2 separate regions of the Homo sapiens genome follow, and region 1 is linked to region 2. The links are contacts of gene promoters, found by promoter capture Hi-C in blood cells and fetal thymus (Javierre and others, 2016). All regions are on one chromosome and are shown on one strand. Each heading gives the region's core, a stretch centred on a gene start or on the middle of the fragment in contact. The rest is flanking DNA. Distances are from core to core; before and after follow the strand shown. Region 1 overlaps KIF15 (kinesin family member 15). Region 2 holds the start of ENTPD3-AS1 (ENTPD3, EIF1B and MYRIP antisense RNA 1).

Region 1 (7,072 bases), core at 3,946-6,445, 4.3 Mb before region 2:
CAGTCAAATGCTGCCCAGGTCATTGTGCACAGGGGGCTTGCCTAAACCTGCCCACGGTGAAAAATTCCATCCCTCAACACATGCACAGTAAGGGAAATAAATCAATATGGAGTGGCTCAGACTAAGGGCCCACATGCACACTGGGAGAATGGGGTGGAACCACTAGGAATTTGTGCCTTATGCAGGGAGAGAAGCCTGGCCTCTTCAGCTGGTGTGTTGTGGCCTGGTATTCAATCTGTGAGGTGGGAGCCTGTTCGCAGGACCTCCTTTTTTCATTGAGAGCGTTCTTTTAATAAATTCTGCTCTTCTCACCTTTCAATGTATCCATGTGCCTAATCTTTCCTGGTCATGCGACAAGAACCTGGATTTTAGCTGAGCTAAGGACCAAAAAATCCTGCATCATTTTGGTGGCCCATATAAGAACATGAGTAAAGGTGAGTAAAATGTGAACCAAAAAATATTTTTCCCTCTTGTTTCTGAGGCTTCTTGTCCTCGGACTTCTTCTGAGAATAGAGGAAACTGTGCCCCCTTCTACCCCTCATCGCTCTCAGGGGTAGGGAATGTTGGCCTCATTCCAACCCAGCCTTTCTGTGGCATTTTCCTTCTTTTTTTTGAGACTGTAATGGCACCTATCTTTTCTTCTACAATGTTGGGGGTGTTCTACCCGCAACCCAGTGGCTGCAGGCTCATGCGTAGGATGGACAGGCAAGTGGGGCGAGTGGCAGTTCCTTGCATCCCTCCCCTTCTGGGTGGGGCTGGGGTGCATGGCCCAAGGGCCCCACTTGGCTGGCTGGCCAGGGTTTCCCGCCACATGCCCACAGAGTCCTCCCCTCCCCTAGCCAAGGGGCCCAGCTAGGTTCAAGCCCCAGGGAAGAAACAGCAATTAAAGATTTCTCTCCCTGCTGCAAAAACTCATTTGCATAAGAATAAGAGGTTCTCCTTTCAGGCATCTTTCAAGCCCTGCATTTAAAGTTTTTTTTTCTTTTTTCCACCAGAGATTAACTTTTATGTGAGAGGCTTTGTTGTTGTTTTTTTTTTTTTAAGATGTTTTACTAGGCCAAGACCCCAACTATCACTGTTTATATTCTCTGTAAGGTTTCAATTATGAAAAAGGATTTGTGAGGTTGGTCTTAAGCTGTAACCAAGCTGGTGTGCTTTCCATGTCTTTCTGTATGGCTCTGTCAGAAAGAGGGGTACCTTAGGATGGGATGCTGGCATAGGACTCCATAGGTCCACTGTTCAAACCAGCCCGGCAAACTGGTTAATGGCAAACTTTGCTGCAGGCCTCCATCTTGTTTTATGTCCTTGGAAGCACGGCCTGTAACCACGTGCCCAGTGCTTTGTTTTAGCCTCTGCCATTTTACAATGGTGGCCTGGATTCAATCCTGGCTTAAGGAATGAGTCCTTTCTGGTTTGATATCTGTGTGACCTTAGCTATTTGTTGATTCTCTTTCCCTCCATGAACCACCTTGAATTTTCCTTTCTCTGAGCACCTGGGAAGTTACCTTTGGTAAAGTTTGGAAGTCAGAAATACTGGCCACTTTGCATGGCTAATGTCGGGTAATAAGGGACTCAAAAGGATTTTCTTAAAAAGCGTTCAGCTTAATTGAAAGTGGATATCCAAGTTATAAGTATATTTAAAAGACCTTTATGTTTTTCTCTTCTTAGATCTTATTTTGCTGGGTAAAGGTTTTTTTCTCAGTCAACTGAATTCTTTTTCTCCATTTTGTCTTGCCCCTCTTAATGCATGCATGAGGGGCCCTAAGATAATTTCTGATGGCCTGAGACTCCTTGGGAAAAATAGAAAAGTCTCCATGGATTCCATTTTGGGAGAGACCTTTGTTTTCCTAATGGAGCCCCAGGAATTAGAGGTGGATGGATCCCTCTCAAAATCTGTTTTTGTCTTCTAGCTATACCTGTTTACTAGGCCCTAGAAACTACATGCTTTCCTAGCCCTGCTCTTAAAGGGCCCCACTGAGAGGCTAATTGTCCAGTTACGAAATTGGTGAACAGAAAATCTTACAGCTACTGGATCTTCTTCTGGCTGTGTAGTTATGTATGTGTTGTGTGTGTGATCTCTATAAACAAGAGTTCTAATTAATTGGCCTAAAGGAAAATAAGCACTTAGATCAAATATTTTTTAAAGGAAAGAAGAGCTGTGGTACCTTTTAGTTCACATGACTTTAATCTTTGAGAAATAAAAACAGCCTTAAAAATTATTGGTAAAATGCAGATGTCATCAAAATGTACATTTTTGCCTAGGGTTAAAGGACTGTTTTGAATTAGATAAGATAAAGCTAAATGTGTAAACAAGTAGTGGAAGGATTGTAAAAATTGATCTTGCAAAAAAAAATTCCTTGTGTGAACATACTGATTAAATTCAAAAGGGTATTATATGGCTTTTCCATAAATTGAGCATTGAAATAAAAGCACAACAAGGTTCTCTTAAGGCACCAATCTGCTCTTTAGCTAAATCTGTAAAGGGTTATAAAAGGTTTTTGCTTTTTAAAATTTCTGAGTCATCATTTTGACAAAATAAATAACTTACGGTAATCTGGAATTCTATTTCATAAAATCAAATGTTTTAAACCTCTAACATATTCAACAGGCTTCCCAAAATCAAACTTCAGTTTCAAAATTGTCTTTCCTGACACCTGGCTTTTGGATGCTACAGAGGGCCCCTGACACATCCAGAAGAGAGGTAAACAGGATTACCTGACATGTTTAGGTACATGGGATTGCCAAAATAATGTTTAATCTTCTTCAGGTTATATTTTAGGGAATAATATTAATATATGTTCCAAAATTGTAAAGGATTCCTAAAATTCTAGTGTCTGGCCATAAAAATGGAATCTGTGGTGCCTTTTCTGTTTTTTCCGAGGAGTCCCAGGCCATCAGAAATTATCTTAGGGCCCCATCATGAGTATATGCTATCAATCACAATTAAGGTTGTTATGTTAAGTTATTATAAACCACAGAGATAACCAAATTTATTTGTCAATTCTGTTTCTGACTCTAACTACCCTGGACATTTTGTTATTCACAGACAATTGTTGTCTTGTTTTCATCCTCTTCAAAAGATGGTTTATAATCAGCCATAGAACTTTCATAGGTGCTCTCAAATGCAGGTTTCTGATAACTTTGGAGATTGAGACATTAGAATAAAGAAAAAACAAACAGGACTCATGAAGAGCTGAAATGTTCATGAATATCAAGCAAAACAAGAGTTAACTGGATGGACTTAATGAATACAAAACTGAAGTAATCTTTTTGACTTTCGCTTGGACCATTGCCAATCCTTGCTTTGTTTTTCAGAGTGAAGGAAACTTATTTTGAACTATTTACAGCCTTTAATAATTGAGTAAGGTATACTCCTGTGAACAAAATTTGGAGCATGTTTGTCTCTCTCTCTCTGCCTGGCTTCTCCAGAATTTGGAAACTAGTTGTGAGTATACTTAACTTATGACAATATATTTGTTTGCATCAGTGCAATAAGATTCCATTTTCTTTGCAACAGGACACAACTGAAGACACTAGTTGTTTTACCAAGGCCTTTGACTGGAAGGGTATGCTTCCTTTTAAGGAGTCAAGCTTGACTTGCAGAACTGATAAAAGCTCCTTGGGAAAACTGGCCTCATACCTTGCCTACACAGTCCCTGTACAGGGTTCCTAATCTGCGGTGAGTAAGAAGTGTCACTTTTTAACAGGCCCAGGAACCCTATGCTCTTGGGACCTCAAGAAGAGAGGAGTTTACCCAACTCACAGGTATTTGAGGGTAAAAACCCACAGCTGGGTTCAGCTTTAGAAAGTCCTATCTGAGATTCCTTGTGGAATAGAGTTCCATCAAAGCCAATCTAAAAGCCCTCTGTAAAAATAAGTATTCTTGCTGCACTTCATGCAAAGAATCAAGCCAAGTATAAGACCAAAGTCTATTTTGCAAACAACTCAGTCCTATCATGGTTTGTTTTTAAGAAAACTGAGGACTGGAGAGAGATAAATTATGTTTAAAAACTTATCATCATTAAATTCTAGACCCACTAGTTGTTTTCAAGTTTTTTGCCTAGTTCGTTTAAAAACTAACCCTGCTTATGCCTGTGATCCAACCAGAGATCTCCAACTACAGCCCAGAAGGAACAAAGGGGGATGGGTAATGTAAAAATCTGAATCAATATTCTAGTTCTAAGCAATTATCCTGCAAATCCTGCTAGGTGGTGGGAATAAATACAGTGCCTGTCATCCAGAGGTTTCCTTTTTGGGAAAGTAAGACCAAGGGAGCTAACCAAAGCCAAGCTCCATGCACCCAAATCTTAGCAAACATAACTATAGCCACCAGTTATCTGGGTGTGTCACAGGGCATCCTTTTCTTTCCCTTGGAGGAGGACCCCTTTCACAGCTTCACCTTAGCATTCAGCTTATGATAAGGAGTCCATACAACCCCTGAGACATATTTTTGGTCCCAAACTCAATTCCCAACTTCAGGTCAAAGCCCTAAGAAAAAAAAAACTGGATCTGAGGGATCCAGAAGCAGACGGTAACAGAAGTTAAAAAGCACAGCACAGGTGAGCATGACTAACTCCTGCCGATTAAGCCAAGCCTCCTGTTTCATGGATAAACATCATGCTAGTATCCACGACATAAATGAGGTCTAGAGAACTTGAAGGCTACTGACAGCAGGGGAGATAGGGCGTACGTGGGTAAGCCCTGTTAACATGGGGGAAAGCCGCTTTGACATTCATGGGTGGCACCCTTTGATGATCACCCAGGTCTTGGGGATATAAGGACAGAAGAAATGAAAAGGGGCACGTCACTTTCTCCCTCCCTCACCTACCCTGGGTATTCACTAGGAAGAGAAAGGAACCAGGGACACCTGCTCCCCTCTTTCTTGATGGATTGCCATTCATCTTCAGTCTGTGGCCTTTTTGAATACATCCTGAACCCCTGGGACTCCTTTGAAAAAAACACCTTCTTTTTTCCTTTTCCCCTTGTGTCCTCTCTTCACAGATAGGTAATTGTGTCTCCTTACTACAGCACACTCCCCTTGGATCCATCCTCTAAACTGCGAAAAGTTAATTTCCCAAACCTTAAACTTGAGAATAGCTTAGGACTGGGCTTGGGGGAAGGGAACCTCGAAGACTGACAAGCCAGCAAAAGGGTAAAAATTTTTTTTAACTTTTAACAATCAGGCTTTTGGCCTCCCTCTCCCTGTGCAAACCAGTAAAAGGCCTCGGGATTTTCGAGCATGACTTCTGGCATGACTTCTGTCCTTACCCCATCCTTGTTTTGTTTTGATACATGTTTTCTAATAACTCAGTTTGTCTCTTCTCGCCTTCAGGTCATCAAACTCCAGTCGTGCAACTGGAGCCTCAGATAATGGTCCCTTTTGCCAGGAACCTTTAGATTGGCCTCTTAGGGAAATCTGACTGCCATTTTCCCAACACAGCACCCCCTGTCAGCAGGAAGCAGTTAAGATTGGTCTTTGTCCTTATCTTTATTCTAAGGGCAGTTAGATGTACTTCTTTAGAGTGGGGAATGATAGAGACAGGAGACAGCCAAACGCCTGCCGGGTCACTGAAAAATTCTGTCCCTTAACACATGCGCAGTAAGGAAAATAAATCAATGTGGAGTGGCTCAGACTAAAGGCCCACATGCGCCCTGGGAGAATGGAGTGGAGCCACTGGGAATTTGCACCTTATGCAGGGGGAGAAGCCTGGCCTCTTCAGCTGGTGTATCACACTTTTTTTCACTGAGAGCTTCCTTTTAATAAATTCCACTCTCCTCATCTTTCGATGTGTCCGCGTGCCTGATTTTTCCTGGTCATGCAACACGAACTTGGATTTTAGCTGAGCTAAGGAGCAAAAAATCTTGCATCAGTGGTTTTTTTTTTCTTTTCTTTTCTTTTTTTTTTGAGACGGAGTCTTGCTCTGTCACCAGGCTGGAGTGCAGTGCCACGATCTTGGCTCACTGCAACCTCCACCTCCCAGATTCAAGCAATTCCCCTGCCCTCAGCCTCCCAAGTAGCTGGGACTACAGGGTGCACCACCACGCCTGGCTAATTTTTTGTATTTTAGTAGAGACGGTGTTTCACCATGTTGGCCAGGATGGTCTTGATCTCCTGACTTTGTGATCTGCCCGCGTTGGCCTCCCAAAGTGCTGGGATTACAGTAGTGAGCCACCATGCCTGGCCTGTTTTTAAATACTAGGTACAAATTGATGATTCACAAATTTAAACCTTCCTGGACTGCTGTCCTGAGCTCCACACTCCTTTTTTTTTTTTTTTTTTTTTGAGATGGAGTCTCGCTCTGTTGCCCAGGCTGGAGTGCAGTGGCGCAATCTCCGCTCACTGCAAGCTCCACCTCCCGGGCTCATGCCATTCTCCTGCCTCAGCCTCCGGAGTAGCTGGGACTACAGGGGCCTGCCACCACGCCCTGAGAATTTTTTGTATTTTTAGTGGAGACGGGGTTTCACTTTGTTAGCCAGGATGGTCTCCATCTCCTGACCTCATGATCCACCCGCCTCGGCCTCCCAAAGTGCTGGGATTACAGGCGTGAGCCACCACGCCCAGCCGAGCTCCACACTCTTACAACTTATTACCTATTTGATATCTCTAACTGGATATGCAGTGGGCAATGAATCAAATTTAATGTGTCCAAAATTGAGCTCCTGATCACCCCACCTCTAGCCCAAATGTGTTTCTACATCTCCGTTAACTCCATCTTTCCAGTTGCTTAGGCCAAAAACCATATAGTCATCCCTGACCCTGTTCTTTCTCACTCTTCGTATCCAATCTCAGCAAAGCTTTGGCTCTAATTTCAAAATATACCCACAATCCAACAACTTCTTGCCAAATCCACTGCCACAGTGTAGAACCAAGCCAGCAATATCTCTTTATTGTGTTATTACAATAGTCTTTCTGCTTCTCTTTCTCCCCCACTCTCATCTTTTCTCAACCTAGCGGGCAGAATAATTCTGTTAAAAAAGAGTTCAGAGATTGACTTCTGACATGACATTATGAGGAATTCCACTGACCCACTCCCCAGTGAAACTGGTGAAATTTAAAAAAAGAAAGTTGGCC
Region 2 (6,741 bases), core at 4,242-6,741:
AAACTTTTACTAGCATAAACAAATCTGGGGATGGGAGGGAGGAGTGATTAGTGGACAGTTACCTGTGCGGAAACTTGAGGATGAAATCAGTGAGCTGCATGCACTTGAAAGGCATGGCCTGTCTCCTCACTTGAGTGCAAGGTCCATCGACCAAAGCCTAGAACACAAACATCAAGAACTTCAGTGCAAAATCTAACAGCAATTAAAATGGTCAGATGGTTCTGTAACATTACTTATCCGTTCAGGGCCATCAAACCCACACTACTATTTTAATAAATTGCTCAGAAAAGACAAGGATTGTCCTATCTGGGTTATATATATGTATGTCTTTTGCTCAACACAAACATTTCTCCACATCATTAAATGCTCCTTCTTAAACTATATAGTACCCCATAGAAACCAACCACATGTAATTTACAGGCAACTTTAGGACTCTGATCCCTGCTGATTTATAGTCAGTGGTCAACTCCTTAGTTTGCTTGTTTCAAATACACAGCAGTAAATACAAAAGTGCTTTCTACGTGCTGGATCTGTTCTAAACTCACTTTACGTATAGTAACTCATTTAAAACTAACCAACGTTTCAGCCTATAACTGGCTCTAGCTTAAGTGGCTAATACTGAAATTCAATACTAATAGCTAACTTCAGGCTGTGCTTAAAACCCGTACCATTACCTGTTTCCTCAATGGTAAAATAAAGCGACTACCCATAGCATCCTCATCTTACACAGCCATCGAGACAATTCATTATTGCCATCTGCAGGGCACATGTCCACTGCCATGTTTAGTAAAAAGTTGTGACACTTACCCTGTTCTGATCAATAACATCTACAATCGCGACCAATTTTCCGGCATGAGGTCCAAAGGAGACATAGGCCACCCGGCCAACCTCCACGAAGCGCCTGAACACCTAAAATTGGAGGAGAAAGGACAGTGAAACTTACTTAGAAATACTCGCTACATATGTCACCTTCTGCAGCTAAAGACAACATGGTTAAATTCAGCGAAAAAGAATGCTGCAGGGAACAAACGCCCGAGAGCCAGGCGCCAACCTGGATGGACGAAATCAGCAAACGCCTCAGTAGCTTAAGCCCGGTTCCCAACGCCCGCCAGCTCCCAGGTCCGCAAGGCCCACACGGCAGGACAAGGCTCTCGGACCACGAGCCGCATCAGCCATCCAGCTCCAGCGGCGGAGGCGCGCACGCGTGGCCCAAGGCGCGCCAGGCCTGCCGGGCCCTCCACGCGCTCGCCAGCGGCGAGTCCGGGAAGGGCGCGAGTCCGGGAAGGGCCCGATTCCGCTGCACAGCCGGCCCGGGGACCCTCACCATGCGCTTCCCGGGACCCTCTGGGAGCCGTTTGGCGCCTCAGCTTCCCAGCGGAGGTGGAGGTCGAGCGGCATGGTCGACGGCCCCGGAGCCCGCAACAGTAAGACTCACCATGTTGGCGGCGTTAGGCGAGAAGGAAGAAGACCCGCCCAACCCTGCGCATGTGTAGAAGAACGCACCGCCCCTGCGGTAACGAGTCACCGACGTGAGCACCGATTGGTTGGTGCGTGCGTGCGTGCGTGCGTACGCACGCGCTCGCAAGCTCACTGGGAAAACATGGCGGAGTCGGCTGGCGTTAAGTTGCTTTTTGGCAAAGTTGGGCGGCGAGATTGTTTTTGGTGATTTGGATTAGAAAGCTGCAGGAGGGTCATCGCTTAGTAATTTAGGGTTAAGAGTACAGAAGCTATGTCTTCCGTTGGTCGCATGCCATTTGAGTTCCTTTTTATTTCCTCGAGTTTTATTTGTTGGTTATTCATGGCTAGGTCTGTTCGCTCCTCACGTTCTCTCCTAATCTCAGTAACTTTGTTAACCTTTCATTTTCAAGTAATTCACAGTTACAGAAATATTGCTAAACTAGTACAAATAATTCCCACAAACCCTTCTAGATTCCACAAATGTTAACGTTTTGCATGTGCTATATCATTTGAAAGGAAATTGCCGACATGATGTCCTTCTATCGCTACATTTTTTTTTTTTTAAAGACGGAGTCTCGGTCTGTTGCCCAGGTTGGAGTGCAGTGGCGGGGGCTTGGCTCACCGCAACCTCCGCCTCCCGGGTTCAAGTGATTCTCCAGCCTCAGCCTCCCAAGTAGCCGGGACTACAGGCGCGCGCCACCATGGCCGGCTAATTTTTTTGCATTTTTAGTAGAGACAGGGTTTCACTATGTTGGCCAGGCTGGTCTCGAACTCCTGACCTCGTGATCTGCCTCCCTCAGCTTCCTAAAGTGCTGGGATTACAGGCGTGAGCCGCCGTGCCTGGCGTTACATTCTTTTATAGAGACAGGGTCTCCCTCAGTCGCTCAGGCTGGAGTGCAGTGGCGCGATCATGGTTCCCTGCAGCCTCTAACTTCTGAGTGAAGACGATCCTCTCGTCTCGGCCTTCCAAAGTGTTGGGATTACCGGCGTGAGCCACCATGCCCAGCCTATCTATACGTTCTTAAAATGTGTATTTCCTAACAACAGAGAGATTCTCTTATGTCATCAGTACACTTATCAAAATCAGGAAATTGATATTGCAATAGTACTATTATCTAACCTTCAGTCCTTATTCAAATTTATAAGTTGTTGCTCCTATGTTCCTTGGAGCAAATGGGAAAAAAAATTGTTTTTCCAGGCTCTTGATCTAATGGAGGATTACAAATTGCAATTATTTATCAGGTCTCTAGTCTTTAACTGATAGTTTTAGATTTAACTGTTAAATTTGTAACATGGGTTTGTTGGAGTTTTCCTCATTGGATTCAGATAGTGAATTTTTGGTAGAAATGCTATGTCCTTGGTGCATCACATCAGAATACATTCTCTCTCTCTTCACTCTCTCTCTCTCTATATATATACGCACACACAAACACTTTTTTTTTTCTTTCTTTTTTTGAGATGGACTCTCCCTCTGTCACCCAGGCTGGAGTGCAGTGGTGCGATCTCGGCTCACTGCCACCTCTGCCTCCCAGGTTCAAGCAGTTCTCTGCCTCCCGGGTTCAAGCAGTTCTCTGCCTCATCCTCCCAAGTACCTGGGATTACAGGTGCCTGCCACCACGCCCGGCTAATTTTTGTGTTTTAAGTAGAGACAGGGTTTCACCATTTTGGCCAGGCTAGTCTTGAACTCCTGACCTTGTGATTCACTTGCCTCAGCCTCCCAGAAGTGCTAGGATTACAAACGTGAGCCACTGTGCTTGGCCACACACATATACATTTTTTCGAAGAGATGGGGTCTGGCTGTGTTGCCCAGGCTGGAGTGCAGTAGCTATTCACAGGTCTGATTGTAGCCTGCTACAGCCTTGAACTCATGGGCTCAAGCAGTTCTGCTTCAGCCTCCAGAATAGTTGGGACTACAGGAATACACCACCACACATGGGTTCCCAATATTGTGGTGGTATTTTATTCTTTAGATTTTTACCCAGGCCAGTGCAGAGAGGTGTTACCTTTTATCACTTGATTAAGGTGATGATCTTTGCCATGACAGTTCCCAGATGTATTTCAAGCCTTTCCTCTAAGCTCTATGCCAGCATATCTTCCCTGAGACTGCTCTAGCAGCCTCCTAAATTCTGTCTTTAATCTGTTCTCTGCTCAGCAGTTAGAGGGATCTTTTAAGTAAGTAAATCAGATCACATTATTTCCTGTTTTTAACAGTTCGATTGCTTTTCATAATATTTGGAATAAAATCTCAACTTCTTACTCTGGCCTTGTATCATATGCTTTAATACCCAGATACACCTTATGCCATCCCTCCTTCATTGTGTTGAAGCCACACTGGTCTTGAATGGGCCAAGCTCTCTCCTCCTCCATGACCTTTATACATGGTGTCTCTCTTGCCAGGAATGGTCTACCCATTGTTAATACTCATCGTGTAGCAGTGCCAACTTATCTCTTGTATTTTTTCCTAGATATTTTTCTGAGAGTTAACCAGGCTACCACATAAAAAAAGGTTAAGTCCCCACCCTTCTTTTTCTAGCTCACCTTGTTTCCCTCAGAGTTATCACAATTGCAATTGTTTGACTTGTTTTGCTGCCCACGTAGGTGTTGTTTCGTTCCAGTTAGAATAAGTTCCATGAGGGCAGGACCTTTGCTGTCTTTTCTGTTTTATTTTCTCACCTTAGTCTGGTAAGGGGCTCAATAAATAGGTAGTGAATGAATCAGTCTTTAGGTCTTGTTGTCTTGCTTTATAATTTACAAAGCAAAAGATATGAATGAAGAAGAATGTTCATTTTAGCATTTTTTTTGCTACTATCTCCAAACTGGAAATTACCCAAAGGCCCATAAACAAGAGACTGGATAAATTGTGATAACAATCTATAGCAACGGAGTCTACAGCAACTACATGGAACAATGCGGATGAATTTCATAAATAACACTAACAAATAAGCTGACACAATATATCCTGTATGCTTTTATTTATATCAAATTCAAAACAGGCAAAACTAATCTACAGTTCTTATAAGTAATGATCATATTTACCTTTGGTGCAGGCAGCAGTGGCTAAAGGGGAAAAGGGGAGCTTCTGAGCTGCTGGCCATGTTGTTTCTTCATCTGGTGTTAACTACGGGAGTGTGTTATTATTTTTGTTTTAAATTTTTTTAGAGACGGGTCTTGCTATGTTGCCCAGGCTGATCTGGTACTCCTGGCCTCAAGCCATTCTCCTGCCTAAGCCTCCCGAGTAGCTGGGATTAGGGGCACGGGCCACCCCGCCTGGCTGAAGTGTTTGCTTGTGAAAATTCAGAGCCCTATCCATATGGTTTATGCGTTTTCTCACCAAATGTATGTTAACCTAAAAAGTTTTTTTTTAATGCAGTTTCCTGGCTGTACAACCAGAGAACTTTATTTGCAGGTCTGGTGAGGGGCAAGAATCTGCATATAAAAACAAGCTCTCAAACACACTTTGAACTTCCCCGAACACAATTTGAGAAACACTTTGGGACTCCCCCTACAGTTACAGAATTATTTTCTAAAGTACATTATCTTGTTATATCACTCCTGTTTAAAGTTGATTTTTATCCCCTATCTTACAGGATATAGTCCAAACTCCCTAGTCTGGCATTCAAGGCACTCCAAAATCTTACTCCCAAACACCTTCCTAGCTTTTTTCTCCGACCATTCTGCGTCTCTCATTCCTATTTCCCGCAGCATTTCATGCAGCTTGAGCCCCCTGTTTCCTAAAATGTGCTCCCCACAAGCATCTCGAGATCCCCATCCCAGGCAGCCCCAGGCAGTTTTTAAGTTTCTACCAAGCTCCACTATACTGGCAAGGCAACTTTCCCCAAGCAAGTCTTGTTTCCTTCGGAAGGTCGCAGGCGCCCAGGAATGAACAGGATAACTGCTAGTGGCTCCAGATGTCAGAAAACAGATGACCAGATCGAGCACGCGCAGATCTCTGGTTGGTCGGCTGTGTGCCTCCGGAAGGCCCGCCCTGCTCGTCCAATCACGGAGAGGGAGGGCACGTTGAGAGTGATGCCAGGAATCAAGATGGCCGCCTGGGACCGCTCTCAGCCCCTTCGGCCTCTACCTGAAGAGCCACGCCCCGTCTGCTACACCCAACTGATTGGTTCCTCAATCACAGAGAGGAAAGGCAACATGAGGATGACGTCAGTTACAAATATGGCGTTTTGGACGGGCTCGATAGTTTGCTTGGCCTCTACTCAAGGTGCGTCCGGACGTCCAATCACCAAGGGGCGCAGTCGGCTCTTAAATGTGGAGGCAGGGGCCTAGACACTCAGGCTTAGGGGATGTCAGCTGGTACTGTGTACGAGCTGTCCTGTAAACCGTCGCCCGTCCCCTGAAGCCGCGCCCCTCTTCTCTTGCTTGTTGCAAGGGACGGATGTGAAGGGCTGGGCGGGCGTCGAGCTTTGGGTTCTTGCAGTGGGTCATAGACCTGAGGGCACTAGTCCCGCGGCCCAGATGGGGGATGCGAGGGACAGTAGGAGCACGTCCACTTGTCCCACAGTCTCTGCGGTGTCACGAGGCCAGGACTGCCTGCCTGTAACCAGATTGGCCCCTGTATTTGTCAGCTTCAGCTGACTAGATATGTCTCAGTTTTGTTTGTTCAGACACTGGCGATGGGGGCGTCAGTTTAGCAGACAAAATATTTACCTGTAGCCCCAAAGAAAAAGAAACATAAGTCAGTACAAGAATCAAACCAAAAGCTGTGCAGAACCCTGACTTTCTTTCTTGTTCTTAATAACTAACCTTCCAGAGAAGTGACCTAACCCTAGTTATGACCAAATTGACATGGTAGCCATGTGCATAACTACCTGGCAACGTGGACAGGTGCATTTGTATTTAGGAGTGAAAAAATGTTTGTTGTATCAGTTTTTGAAATTTGCAATCTTAGGAACCCTGAAGCTGAGCAAGACTGTTCAAGCCCAGTCAGCCTAAGACCACCAGGGACAAACCTGTAGTCAGCAAAACCAGGTCTATCGATCTTTTTTAATGAGGGAGATTGCACACCAGAGACACCATGGGACATTTTACCAGGGGAAGGAAAATATAAAGTTACAGGATTTTGAGGAAGTGTAAAGTTTAGATGGAACTTAAATGAAGCAGGGTTTTAATAGCCTCAAAACAAAGCAGGACTGTGAAAAAGGGTCAACATCAGGCCTAGACTGCAGAGTGGACCCATTGTCCTGTTTTTTTGAAAACCTTTTCTGAAGCTTTGCAACTGGCTGCTTGTAAATTGAAGCTGTATCTCTGTGTTAAAGTGACTTAGGT

The links. Contacts are between HindIII fragments. The CHiCAGO score rates a contact against its expected background, and 5 or more counts as called.
Region 1: a contact is called between a fragment that was not itself captured here and the fragment with the promoter of ENTPD3-AS1 in region 2, in 1 of 17 cell types (neutrophils). The highest score is 6.4, in neutrophils.

Annotation. Positions count from the first base shown.
Region 1 is chr3:44,767,106-44,774,177 of GRCh38, reverse strand. The region is part of intron 1 of KIF15 (kinesin family member 15); the gene reads right to left. Among named protein-coding and RNA genes, the nearest start is that of KIF15, 8.8 kb to the right of the region's middle. The HindIII fragment of the contact is 3,204 bases long and covers 3,594-6,797 here.
Region 2 is chr3:40,452,058-40,458,798 of GRCh38, reverse strand. ENTPD3-AS1 (ENTPD3, EIF1B and MYRIP antisense RNA 1) reads left to right here and starts at 5,491. Exons shown (of 4, transcript NR_040100.1): 1 at 5,491-5,677. RPL14 (ribosomal protein L14) reads right to left here and starts at 1,460. Exons shown (of 6, transcript NM_001034996.3): 1 at 1,325-1,460; 2 at 808-909; 3 at 63-157. The coding sequence starts at 1,327. RefSeq lists a silencer at 1,175-1,224 and enhancers at 1,367-1,661, 5,598-5,667, 5,688-5,757. The HindIII fragment of the contact is 7,917 bases long and covers 1-6,685 here.